Regions from separate parts of the Homo sapiens genome. Here region 2 is linked to region 1. Evidence: promoter capture Hi-C in human tissues and cell types (Jung and others, 2019). All regions are on one chromosome and are shown on one strand. Each heading gives the region's core, a stretch centred on a gene start or on the middle of the fragment in contact. The rest is flanking DNA. Distances are from core to core; before and after follow the strand shown.

Region 1 (6,750 bases), core at 3,093-5,592:
GCTCATTAGGAGAAGCCGTGAGTTGGGGATCTGAAAATCTGGGTTCGCTAAATGACTCCTTTACCTCAGTGTGCTGTGTATGTTCTTGGGCGAATCATTTCACCTCTTTGGGCCTATTTCCTTCATGTTAACATGGGATAATTGCTGAAGTGGACTTTCGTAAGGCTCAAAGCACTCTGTATTGTGAAAAGGGCTCTCTGAATGGTATCTGAGGTTTCTTTTATTCTCCTCATCCCTCTCCTCAGTCTTTACACTGCCAAAGCCCTCTTTCCCACTCTGACATTCTCCTTGGGCCACTGGCAGTCTCTACCTGTCACTCCCCCTGCTGCTCTCTATTACCCTTCTCACCACAGGCCACAGCCCTGGATTCTGCCTTCCTCTACCCACCACTTCCCCAGTGGTTTCTGCCAGACTTCCCCTCCCCTGGCAAAGGCCCTTGGGCTCAGACCTCAGACTCCAGGATCCACCTCTAGGCACTGCCCCGCTTGGTGGGAGTGAGGCCTAAGAAAGGAAAAGAAGGCGGTAGGCCAGGGCCTGAGTCAGGGAAGGAAAGGCTGGAGCTGGCCAAGTAGGGTGCAGGCTCTGAGGGGGAAGAAGGAGCCCCAGATTCATGGGAAGGTAAATTCTGACTACCCCCATCACTGGGACCAGGTGAGAGCCTCTCAACGGACCAGCCAAGAGCACTAAGCTGCATTTTGTGGATGCCTAAAGAGATGCACTGAGGCCGGGCACGGTGGCTTATGCTTGTAATCCCAGCGCTTTGGGAGGCCGAGGTGGGCGGATCACTTGAAGTCAGGAGTTCGAGATCAGTGTGGCCAACATGGTGAAACCCTGTCTCTACTAAAAATATCAAAATTGGCTGGGCGCGGTGGCTCACGCCTGTAATCCTAGCACTTTGGGAGGCCACGGTGGGCGGATCACGAGGTCAGGAGATCAAGACCATCCTAGCTAACATGGTGAAACCCCGTCTCTACTAAAAATACAAAAAATTAGCCGGGAGTGGGGGCGGGCACCTGTATCCTAGCTACTCGGGAGGCTGAGGCAGGAGAATGGTGTGAACCCGGGAGGCAGGGCTTGCAGTGAGCTGAGATCGCGCCACTGCACTCCACCCTGGGTGACAGAGCGAGACTCTGTCTCAAAAAAAAAAAATCGAAATTAGCAGGACATGGTGGTACGCTCCTGTAATCCCAGCTACTCAGGAGGCTGAGGTAGGAAAATCGCTTCAACCCGGGGGACGGAGGTTGCAGTGAGCTGAGATTGTACCATCGCACTCCAGCCTGGGTGACAGAGTGAGAATCTGTCTCAAAAAAAAAAAAAAAAAAAAAGACACATTGACCTGCCAGGGATAAGAAATAAGCTCAAGTTGGAGTACCGTAGAGGCTAGGCTGCTGTAAAAAAGAATGGACAGGCTCTCCGTGTACTGATGTGGGATCCTGAATCCTGTCCAAGGTTTATCAAAGGAAAAGAAGCAAAGTGCAGAACAGCGTGGAGAGTATGTTAACTAGGAAGAGTAATATATCCAGAATCCAGCCACCCCTCACTACTGCTATTGCTATAAACCTGGTCCGAGACCACCAACATGTCTGGCCTATATTGTGCCATTACCTCCTAATAGGTCACTCGTATTCTACCTTTGCTCCCCTGAAATCTATTCTCAACACAGCAGCCAGCTTGAGCCTTTTAAATTAAAAAACTCATTTCACACTCAATATTCGGCAATAGTTCCTCATTTCACTCAGCATAAAAGCTCAAATTCTTAGGCCCTCTATGACCTGCCCCCATTCCCACCTCCAGCTCGATTTCCACTTCTTTTTTCTATAGTGCCTATCATCTAATAACATATACATACTTTAAAAAATGTTTATAGTTTGTCCTCTCCACCCCCTAAAATGTAAGCTTCACAAGTACAAGGATCTGTTTTGTTCACTGCTGCATCCAAAGACCCACAGTGACATATAATATACACTCAATAACTCAATATTTGTTGAATGAATGAAGATGCAGTCTATGCACAGACTGGAATGTTCTCCAAGAAACTGGTAACCATGGTTGCCTCCAGGGGGAGCGCTAAAGGATTGGGGGATAGACGTGGAGACTTTTAACTATTAGAGTTCTTTTTTTTTTTTTTTTTTTTTTATAAGACGAAGTCTTGCTGTGTCACCCAGGCTGGAGTGCAATGGTGCAATCTTGGCTCACTGCAACCTCCACCTCCTGGGTTCAAGCCATTCTCCTGCCTCAGCCTCCCAGGTAGCTGGGACTACAGGCATGTGCCACCACGTCCAGCTAATTTTTTTGTATTTTTAGTAGAGATGGGGTTTCACCATGCTGGCCAGGCTGGTCTCGAACTCCTGACCTCAAGTGATCCACCCACCTCGGCCTTGTCCCAAAGTGCTGGGATTACAGATGTGAGCCACCGCGCCCGGCCTTTTTTTTTTTTTTTTTTTTTGAGACAGAGTTTCATTCTTGTCCCCCAGGCTGGAGCGCAGTGGCATGATCTCAGCTCACCGCAAACTCTGCCTCCCGGGTTCAAGTGATTCTCCTGTCTCAGCCTCCCAAGTAGCTGGGATTACAGGCACTCACCACCTCGCCCAGCTAATTATTTTTAGTAGAGATGCAGTTTCACCATGTTGGCCAGGCTGGTCTAGAACTCCTGACCTCAGGTGATCTGCCCGCCTCTGCCTCCCAAAGTGCTGGGATTACAGGTGTGAGCCACTGTACCTGGCCTGGCCTAAAGTTCTTTACTCTGGGCATATATCACCTTTACAAAAAGAATCTAGAAAAAAAAAAGAGTTAACTAAGAAGAAGGCTGAGGAAGAGCTGGTCCCAGGCAGGGAGGAAGAGGGCACTATCTATAATCTCCAGGCCAGTGCCCCAAGTGACAAAGGGCTGGGGGATGATAACTGGCCCCCCAGGAGGGGCCAGAGAATGCTGGATGGGAATCCCAGGGAAATACTGAACAGTCCCAAACAGGCTGGCTCTGAGGTTTGGGGGGCTGTGGGTGGGCAGATCAGTAAGCATAAGCACCCCCTGAGCAAGACGATACACATGGCTGGTGTATATCTACCACCGGGAGTAACTCATGGAAAATACCAGCTGTGGCTACCAAGAGGAAGTAAAGAGCCAATTCTGCTCAATCTAGCTGTTTATGTCCTGATAGGGCTGTGTCATGATAAGCCTGAGGGACCTGTGTGGCCACACAGGTGTCTTTCTCTGGTAACTTTGTATGTGAGCTGGGAGCTCTTGTAGCTCATGGGGTCCTACTTCCTTGATGAGCTGGGGACTAGCCTCAGCGCAGTGCTTTCCCCAAGATCCTCAGAGGCAGGAAGCTGCCTGGACCAGGTCTTCTATTTGGGAAAGGGCTGGGTCCTCTGGGTTTCCACACACCCTTGGCCTCACAGATGAAGACCCTACTCAAGCTGGGTCCCCTCCTTACCCACAGATTGAGAGGAACCTGAACTGTCTTCCACCCTCCCCACTCAGGAACCAGTGAGTCAGAAAACCTGGCTTTCAATCTTGGTTCTATTCAGGACAAGCTCCTTCCCTCCCTGGTCTGCACCCTTGCTCCCAGACCGTTCTAGTGCTGACTTTTTCTGATTCCCCTTTAGACACTTATAATCTTGGGCCTCAAGGCCTATGGATTATATTTATAATTCAGTGATTCTCAAACAGGTTTCTTAGGGGGCAGTCCATTCTTGGTACTATGAGGGTATGGTAAGATCAACCATCTGAGCTGGTGGGCTCACTGTGCCAAGCTTGGAGGAGTGCCAGGTCTTGCCACAATCTTACTGGGGTCCTAGCCAGAGCAGTCCAAGCTCCTGCCCACCAGAGGTCCACCAGAGGCAGGGGTTGGGAATGAAGGAGGCTCAGAGATGAGGCAGGTCTGCTAGATGACACAGCTCAAAGCAGGATCCACACTTTACTGTTTACTCATTGTTTATGGCCCATCCTTGGTCAAGCACAGCTGGCTTCAGGAGTCTTGATGGCAATTGGGCTGGGGGCTAAAGAAGAGAATGAGAAGCTAAGGCAAGCTCTGCCACAGAAGCTGCAGCTATGCCTCCTGTTTACTCTACCCTGCCCACCTGAGCGATGCCAGCCATGGTGCTGGTGGGGAGAGGAGGCAGTTCCCTGCTACCATTAATCCAGCAGTTCCTTGATACACCAGCAGCAGAGGAGGATGTAGGCGACTTCCTTCAGGGTCCGCTGGAAGCCCTCCCACCCTGTGCCCATCTTAATGACAGGCACCCGCAGCCCAGTGTCTCGAGGGGCCCCTCCGAGGAAGAAGGGTAGGGTTTGGGCTAGGGGCTGTGTCCGGGGCTGCATGTGGGCAACAGTTCCGAGGAAGGGTGTGGGAGCTGCCTCTAGTGCCTTTTATCAACACTGTCCCCACCCCCTTCAGCCTCATGACTACAGAGACAAAGGATCCAGGGTCTAGCAAAGGGAAGGTTCTAGGCCTGGGAACAGGCTGAGTCAGCCCCTCTAGACAGGGATGGGAGGGTGGGGTTAGTGGGAGGGAGGGCCTGGCCACTCCATCTTTCATCCTCCACAGCTAGGCCAAGGCAGCTTCCCCTCTTCCAGCCCAGGTGGTGCCCTGCCTGATTGCCCTTTTCCCAGTGGTTGGCACAACTCCTGCTTTCGCCCTCTGGTGGGCTCCTGCTGAGGCTGACATTGAGAACCATCAGTGAGAGCTCCTTTCCAGCCTGTTCTGCCCTGCCCCTGGGCCCCTTAGAGTGAGCACAGCCAGTCAGAGCTGGCAGCATTTGACCCACTTCTGCTTCTCCCATCCTCTGGAGCAGGAAGACACAGCTAGAGCAACAGGCACAGTGAGAGGCACGGTTTATTGCCAGGTTATACCCTAGGACGGTGTCCTTCCCTCCCTCCTAGGGTGGGAGGTCATGTGCGGGAGTTCCGCTCCTCTTCTTCGTTCTCCAGTAGATAGGCTGGACGGTATGTGGGGTGTCCTCCTGGGCTCAGGCACTTCAGGGCCGGGTTCCGCACGGTATTCTCCCGACTCCCCAGTGATGTGTATCTGGAGCAGGGAGGGTGGAGGGCAAGCATGTGGTAGGGTGGGCGATCCTATTGGCCCTCCCTATCCCAGCACCCTAAAAACTCCCTTACCCATTCCCTTCCCCTAATACCCTTACCCTCGGTCATACAGGATACAGTATGGGACAAACAGCTGACGCAGAAAATCCCAGATGTCTCTGTAGGTCCAGTCCTGGGAGGTCAGAGTAATAGAATAGTCACAAATGCTCACCTTTCCCACTTCTACCCCTGCTGTCCTGGGAAGGGGCCCATCCATGGCTCTTCTGCTCCCTTGGCCTCTGAGGGAGGGCTTGCTATCTGATTCTCTGGTATAGCTTGCTCTATGTATGCAAAGAGAAAGAGAAGGACTTCATCTTCTCCACTCTCTGCTTTCCATTCTTGAACCACCCTCTAGTGCAAGGGTGGAGCTTGAGGACAGGGAGAAACCGTCTATTTTTTTTTTGAGACGGAGTCTGGCTCTGTCGCCCAGGCTGGAGTGCAGTGGCGTGGTCTTGGCTCACTGCAACCTCTGCCTCCCGGGTTCATGCCATTCTCCTGCCTCAGCCTCCCGAGTAGCTGGCACTACAGGCGCCCACCACTGTGCCCAGCTAATTTTTTGTATTTTTAGTAGAGACGGGATTTCACTGTGTAGCCAGGATGGTCTCCATCTCCTGACTTCATGATCCGCCCGCCACGGCCTCCCAAAGTGCTGGGATTACAGGCGTGTGCCACCATGCCCGGCCCTATTTTTTTTTTTTTTTTTGAGACGGAGTCTTGCTCTGTCACCCAGGCTGGAGTGCAGTGGCGCGATCTTGGCTCACTGCAACCTCCGCTTCCCAGATTTAAGCAATTCTCCTGCCTCAGCCTCCTGAGTAGCTGGGATTACAGGCATGCGCCACCACAGCCGGCTAATTTTTGTATTTTTTTAGTAGAGATGGGGTTTCACCATGTTGGTCAGGCTGGTCTTGAAATCCTGACCTCGTGATGTGCCTGCCTCGGCCTCCCAAAGTGCTGGGATTACAGGCGTGTGCCACCGTGCCCAGCCCTATTTTTTTTAGACAGGGCCTTTACTGTTGCCCAGGCTGGAGTGCACTGGCATGATCATGGCTCACTACAGCCTCGACTTCCCTGGCTCAAGCGATCTTCCCGCCTCAGCCTGAGTAGCTGGGACTACAGGCATTGATCAGCCCACCTCGGCCTCCCAGAGTGCTGGGGTTACAGGTGTGAGCCACTGTGCCTGGCCAGAACTTCCTGTGATGATGGAAATGTTCTGTATCTCTACTGTCTAATATGGTGGTCATTTGAAATGTGGCTAGTACAACTGAATAACTGTATTTTTTTTTTGTTTGTTTGGACGGAGTCTCACTCTGTTGCTCAGGCTGGAGTATAGTGGTGCCATCTTGGCTCACTGCAACCTCTGCCTCCTGGGTTCAAGTGATTCTCCTACCTCAGCCTCCTGAGTAGTTGGGATTACAGGTGCCTGCCACCACGCTCCGCTAATTTTTGTATTTTTAGTAGAGACTGGGTTTCATCATTTTGGTTAGGCTGGTCTCGATCTCCTGACCTCAGGCGATCCACCTGCCTCAGCCTCCCAAAGTGCAGGGATTACAGGTGTAAGCCACTACGCCCGGCCTGTGTATGTGTGTGTGTATATATATATATACATATATATATATATATTTTTTTTTTTTTTTTTTTTGAGACAGAGTCTTGTTCTGTTGCCCAGGC
Region 2 (6,750 bases), core at 1,184-3,683, 230 kb after region 1:
GCTCTCTGGCATGTATTTCAGATGGCTGAACATGCAACAAAGTACCTGCAAGTGAGTTTCGTAGTTTATTGAACCTATCACAAGAAGGGGTGACTATTTTTCACTGGAAAATAAGCTTGTTTTAAAGAATGTAGTTTGCAAAGTACTTAGATGATGCACCTTATTTGATATTGCATGGCCTTCCATAGCTTCCAAGCTGAGGCTGGGTTAGTTTGGTCCCTGGTGGGCCACTGGGTCTCTCTCTCTCTCTCTGCAGACATGGGTCACAAGCCCCCGCTAAGACCAAGGCACAGAGGAACAATGAGCAAATCGGAAATTCTCTGAAAGTTCCCTTCTCTTGCGAAAAGGCCATTTGACCAAAGACTTAGGTATAACATGAGGTGTATTAAAGCATGGTGGATGTTATTGTTGCACCCCTGTGCTAGTTCTGTGTAAAATCCATATGTCATCCCAGCTTGCCCTCACAATAGATCTATGAGAGAGGTACCTTGCCTGAGGGAAGGAGAGCCCGGGTCCTGGAGGGGCATTTGGGTGAAGCAACATGTCATCCACTACATGGATGTGTTTGAATTGGACATGAAGGCTCATGGGAGAGTTGAGGAAACTGATAGAAAGTAACTGGCCCGAGGTCACAGAGCTATTAATAATAAGCGTGGAGCCAAAATCTGAACTGGTTTCTGACTCTGAACTTCCATGTGTGTGTCACCAACCCAGGCTGAATCCTGCACATACGAGGAAATCTTGGCCTCTACTCTACTGGCAACTTTCCCAATCTCAGAGTCTTAAGGCCACTGAGACTAACATGTGAATCCCAGTCTTGCTGTTTTCTCTGCCTCTGCTGCCTATGGTCTTGACCATGTTATCATACTAGCCTCCTGGGCTGCCTTCATGTCCAATTCAAACACATCCATGTAGTGGATGACATGTTGCTTCATGTCAACATGAAGGGGACAGATGCCCCCTCCAGGACCCGGGCTCTCCTTCCCTTAGCTGGGGTTGTGACTGAGTCCCTCTCTTCAGGTCAAACCCCTTGCCTGGGGGCAGCAAGCTCCCGAGGGGATTTGTCAGTGTGGGAGTTCAAAGGCCTAACCCCGTTTGCTTCTAGTAGGACACTCAGCCAGGCTCCAGGGTCCCTGAGGGATCGCCTAAGGCCTCTGTTACCACTGCATCCGGGAACTTCCTCTATACCCCAGAGGTATTGATCCTGAGAGCAGCCCCAGTAAAACTCCCACCCCCAAATCTCAGCATCTCACAGACTGTTTCCCAGGAATCTGCCCCGTTAATATATTGTTTCCTAAACAGGCAAAGCACTTCTCTTACCAAGACTAAGCACTATTTTTAGAATCAAGCTTAAATGATCATTCTGTTTCCCAATGTCAAATAATAAGTAAGATTGGCAGAGGCCTTCAGCCAGGACTTATTCAGCCAGAGACTGGACAGAAGCTGGAAGCAGGGGAAGCTTTGGGGAACTGAAGCGTCAGACCAGGGTAGTGTGGACAGGATGCCTTGATCTCTCTCAGCCTGATCTAATGATGATTCTATCACCTTAGGCATCAGAGAGGGTAAGTGACTTGCCCAGGGTCACACAGCAGCATGACAGGTTCTAGAAAAATCCACAGCTGCTGATGCCCAGAGCCTGTTCACATTCCAGGTAGCTTTCATCAGCCTGGACTTATCTCTAGTTGTATACACACACTTCTGAAGTTGCTATGGAAATCTCTCTACAGCAAGATGTATTTTAAAAGACAGTTCTCATATCTTGGGTTGGTTTTTATGTGACAACAAAGGTTTTTCATATTTCCTCCTCCCAAGGAGAGAAAGTGGGATCATAATTACGCAGAACAGCCGTGCCATGGGGAGGGCAGCGCCTGGTTGCTGGGAGGGCAGTGACAACAGTGGGCTTGTTTTCCTTGGCCCCCAGAGAGGCATTACATCATGGGTTCCGAGGCCTGACAGTTGTGGCACTCTGCATTCTCTGGGATTCTCCTGGCTGCCTGCCCACCTCCCTCAGGGAGGAACCTCCTGATTTTACACTGTCAAGTGCCAAGCAGCTTTACTGGTGGAGAGACCATCTGAGGCCCCGGGTCCTCACTGCGGCAGCAGGTTGGAGAGCCAGCCTTCCTAGCGTGCCTTGAGCAGTGCAGTGGCCTGCCAGCTCACCTTTGTATGTTTATCTCCTTGGGAGGAGCAACAAGGCCTCCCATAACATTGATGAAGTGGGGTGAGCCTTGCTGTCACAGCCATGCTTTATAAATGACCTTACTGTCCTCTTGAGTGGATTCCCTTCGGACCCTTTGGACCCTTCACTTTGGTCCCTCCTGAGGCTCCAAATTCTGCAACAGGCTGTCTCAGTGTCCCAGGCCTTCCAGTCTGTCAACAGGTTTTTTATTTTGCTGGTTAACTTTTGGCATACTGATATTTTAATGAGAAATTTTATTCTGGAGATCTGGCTCCTAAAGCAGGAGAAAAACAATTTGTGGCCCATTCTTTCTCTCATTAAGAGAGCCACCACTCCCATTGTAAGGAGATAAAAAGAGGCTTCCTTGCTGTACTCTCTTCTGCCCCTGCCTCAGACACCCAGGCCTGCACTTGCCAGCAGCAGGAAGCAAGACCACAGCTCCCTCCTCCTCCCATCTCCTTCCCACAACCTCCTACCCCCTCCAAGAAGGGGTACTTCCACTCCAAGAAAACAGTAGGAATGGCCAGGCTCGGTGGCTCACGCCTGTAATCCCAGCACTTTGGGAGGCCGAGGCGGGCAGATCACGAGGTCAGGAGATCGAGACCATCCTGGCTAACACGGTGAAACCCCCGTCTCTACTAAAAATACAAAAAAATTAGCCGGGCATGGTGGCACACACCTGTAGTCCCAGCTACTCGGGAGGCTGGGACAGGAGAATGGCGTGAACCCAGGAGGCGGAGCTTGCAGTGAGCCGAGATCACGCCACTGCACTCCAGCCTGGGTGACAGAGCCAGACTCCATCTCAAAAAAAAAAAAACAAACCCCAAAACAAAACAGTAGGAAAGTGGTCATTACAGGGATGAAGCACCCTACATGGGGTTGATGGAAGCCTGCAAGCTAAACCCTGTAGGCTGAGCAGAACTGAGCAGAGCCTGGGAACAGTGGGGCCAGGCACTGTGGTTCCTCATGGACTGCTTTGGTTTGAGTTATAACCTCCAATGTGGGGCACACGCACAGTGATCCATGGGACTATTGGGAGAAATGATCAGAACTTCTACATATATATATATATATATATATATATAAAGCCTGGCTAGTATTTAATAAATGGATAGAGAGCAATACATGTCTGTAATTTATAATAAATATATGTATAATGGAGGAGGGCATGCTCAAAAAATTTTTAATTGGTAGGAGCCCATGATTTTAAAAGTTTGCAAACCACTGGTTTATGATATCAGAGGACTAGTTAGAGAGGATAGGAAAGTAGCCTACCACATGGGATGAAGCCTGCTAGACCCAGGAACCCTGCCCTCTAGCTGGAGAAGTGAGAAGTTAGCCTCCTGTAGGGAAGGAGCAGCCTGTAGCGATCCCCTTCTGGTGCCAGGCGGAGAGATAGATGGCTGGGGAGGGGGAAGGTGGGGAGGCGACAGGGATCCTGCTGGAGGCCTTTGAGAAAAACCTGCAGCATTAAGGAAGAGGAAAATAATCCTGAAGATTCCTGAAAAATGTTTAATTATGAAAAACAAAAAGCAACATTAGAAGAGTCTTGGGTGGCCAGGCACAGTGGCTCACGCCTGTAATCCCAACACTTTGGGAGGTCAAAGCAGGTGGATCGCTTGAGGTCAGGAGTTGGAGACCAGCCTGACCAACACAGCAAAAACCCATCTCTGCCAAAAACAAAACAAAACAAAACAAAAAAAAACCAAAAAAAACATTAGCCGGGAGTGGTGGTGCATCTGTAGACTCAGGAGGCTGAGGTGGGGGGATCACCTAACCTGGGAGGTCAAGAGTGCAGCGAGCAGAGATTGCGCCACTGCACTCCAGCCTGGGTGACAGAGTGAGACCCTGTCTCAAAAAAAAAAAAAAAAAAGGAAAAAGAAAGAAGAGTCTTGGGCATCTCTAATAGGGTGCCAGAATATATATGATCCTTATGATAGAGAAGAGTGGGCAGATGTGAAATGAAAATGTATCTGGTTCACATAAGCACAGAGTTCCAGAAAACTAAAATTGTTTTAGCAAAATGAAAATCCACATTGATGGCACTACATTTTTAAAAATGTGGAATGTGGAGACAAACTTAAAAAATTTAAAGCTCTCTCAGAATGCAGAAGAGATAAGAGAAAGGATGAATAGGACAGAACTGGAGGCTATAGGATCCAGGTGAAATCTAAGAATTAGAGTTATTTCAGAGGAAGAAATGATAAATTTGGATAAAAGCATAATCAGAAATATACGCACAGTAAACATTTTCAGAATTGGCCTAGGTAAGGGGATGTTGTGTGTGGGGATGGTAGATCAGAGTAGGCAGATCGAAACGGATTCCTCTTTTCCAGTTAGAATGTGGGGGACAGGAGGAGCCACCCCTAGACATACCCCAATACATTCTTTTTCTGGAAAATTTATTGAATCATAAGGTGAAACAATCCTAGAGGCACACAGGCATCCCAGAGCTGACTCTCCCTCAGGAACCCTAAATTCAGAGTCATTAGAACAGTTCCACAGTATTTTAAATTTGGATCCACCCTGTCATTTGAATGAGGCAACCAAAGGGCAACAAAAGTCATTCTTGGAGTTTACTTTTGGGGGGAACTCGTTTGCCAGTTGACCAAAGACTGAATCACAATTAAGATCTTAATAATGAAATGTTGTAAAGAAAGGCAGACATTGGTTCACACAGGCAAACATGAAATCAAGACTAAACTTACGCGTAGTTGCAAAACTCCAAATTCTAATGTCAAAGAAAAAGTAGATTCTGGAAAGAGTGGATGTATGAAATTAAAGCAATAATTCAATAATAATTAGAGGGTTGCAAATCCTCAGATTAAAAATTTGAGAGGAGAAGGCTAGAAGGGATTAGTAAAAGCATGCCAGATGCGTTGTCCTATGTAGAGGAGAATTTTAAAATAAAGCCCTATTACTCAGTTTTAGCAATCAGAGAAATATTTTTTTTAAAACCTAAAGGAACCACAGGCAAAATTTTATGAGTATAACAAGAATAACAGTAGCATCAGCCATATATTGTTTCACTTAATCCATACCATAGTTCTATGAGACTGTATCTGCATTCTGTATATGAGGATGTTGAGACACAGAGAGGTTGAGCGATGTGCCTCAGGCCACAGAGCCAGCAGACTTGAGACTCCAACACCAGCCTGAGAGCCTTTTCCCTACCCTGAAAACATATACCTCCCATGCCACATCAGAGCCCACATAGCTAAGACAGAAAAAATAAAGGAAGCAGGAAGGAAGAATTTCAATACAAAGTATGAAAGAAGATCAGAGAAAAACAAACTTAAAATTTATAACAATCAACATAATTGTGTTTACCTCCTTGTTAAAAGTAAATGTCTCTTAGATGAGATTTAAAAGCAAAATTTAATTGCATGCAATTTACAAAAGAAGTACCTAGAACAGAAGGACCCAAAAATAAATGAAGAGCAAAGATTTATTAGGTAAGTACAAATCAGATGGCAAACGAATAGAAATTCTCATTTTAAACCAAAATGAATTCAAAACAGAAATCATTAAATTGTCCAAAAGAACCATTTAATATGGATAAAAGTGCTATATACAGTAAAACTGTGAATTTTATACAAAAAATGAGATTGATAATCTGAATTTTTAAATGTTTAAATTAATTGAGCACTTTGTAGCCTATAAACAAACATCTTCTTTTTAAGCATCCAGGGAACACTTTAAAAAATTGATCAACTTCTTGGTCACACATTTCAAAACATCAGAAAAGTTGCTCGGGCTGTATTCTCTGACCACAAGCCTATAAAACTCCAATTAAAGGACAACTTTTTGGTGGGACTTTTAAAGCAATCTCCTCAATTACAACAGAGAATTCAAAACTACCGTTAAAGGCTATTAGAAAATTACAACAATGATGACCCTGTACGTAAAAACTCAGGATGTGACCAAAGGTGTACTCAGATGAAAAACATCCTTAAAGTTTTTCAGGCACAATGGTGTGCACTGATAGCCCCAGCTACTTGGGAGGCTGAGGTGGGAGGATCACTTGAGCCTAGGAGTTCGAGCCAGTAGTGGACTATGATTGTGCCTGTGGATAGCCACTGCCTCAGCCTGGGCAACATAGGGAGACCCCATTTTTAATAACAAAAACAGAAAAAAATGAACAGAGAAAATAACTGAATCCATTAGAAGAACAAAACAAACCTCAGGAGGGAAGATTAAGTTTATAACAAAGGCAAAGATAGGAATTAATGAATTTAAAAACCAGAAAAACATAATTTATAAATCCAAAAGATACCAACTTCTAAAATATAAATTTAATTGAGAAAAAAGAAAACACAAAATTAGAAATTTTAATGGAGAATAACTACTGATTCTTAGGATGTTTTAATAAATAAGTGAGAATAGCTTAACTTTTTTTGAAAGAGAAGACCATTGAGGGGGCTTTCTCTACTAGATATTAAAATGTATTATAAAACTGAAAGTAATTAAGTCCCTCTGGCATTACTGAAAAATCAATAATGACAGATCAATGAAACCTAATGGAAAACACTGAAATAAACCCTACTATGTTAGAACCCAATATACGAGAA

The links. Contacts are between HindIII fragments. The study calls those that stand out against the background at their distance.
Region 2: a contact is called between a fragment that was not itself captured here and the fragment with the promoter of LENEP in region 1, in 1 of the 25 tissues and cell types used here (H1 embryonic stem cells).

What each region holds. Positions count from the first base shown.
Region 1 is chr1:154,991,178-154,997,927 of GRCh38, reverse strand. LENEP (lens epithelial protein) reads right to left here and starts at 4,342. Exons shown (of 1, transcript NM_001394530.1): 1 at 3,613-4,342. The coding sequence starts at 4,320. The coding sequence ends at 4,135. FLAD1 (flavin adenine dinucleotide synthetase 1) reads right to left here. Exons shown (of 7, transcript NM_025207.5): 6 at 5,142-5,215; 7 at 4,817-5,026. The coding sequence ends at 4,891. The HindIII fragment of the contact is 8,242 bases long and covers 2,825-6,750 here.
Region 2 is chr1:154,762,931-154,769,680 of GRCh38, reverse strand. All of the region lies in intron 3 of KCNN3 (potassium calcium-activated channel subfamily N member 3), which reads left to right. Among named protein-coding and RNA genes, the nearest start is that of KCNN3, 100 kb to the left of the region's middle. The HindIII fragment of the contact is 3,402 bases long and covers 733-4,134 here.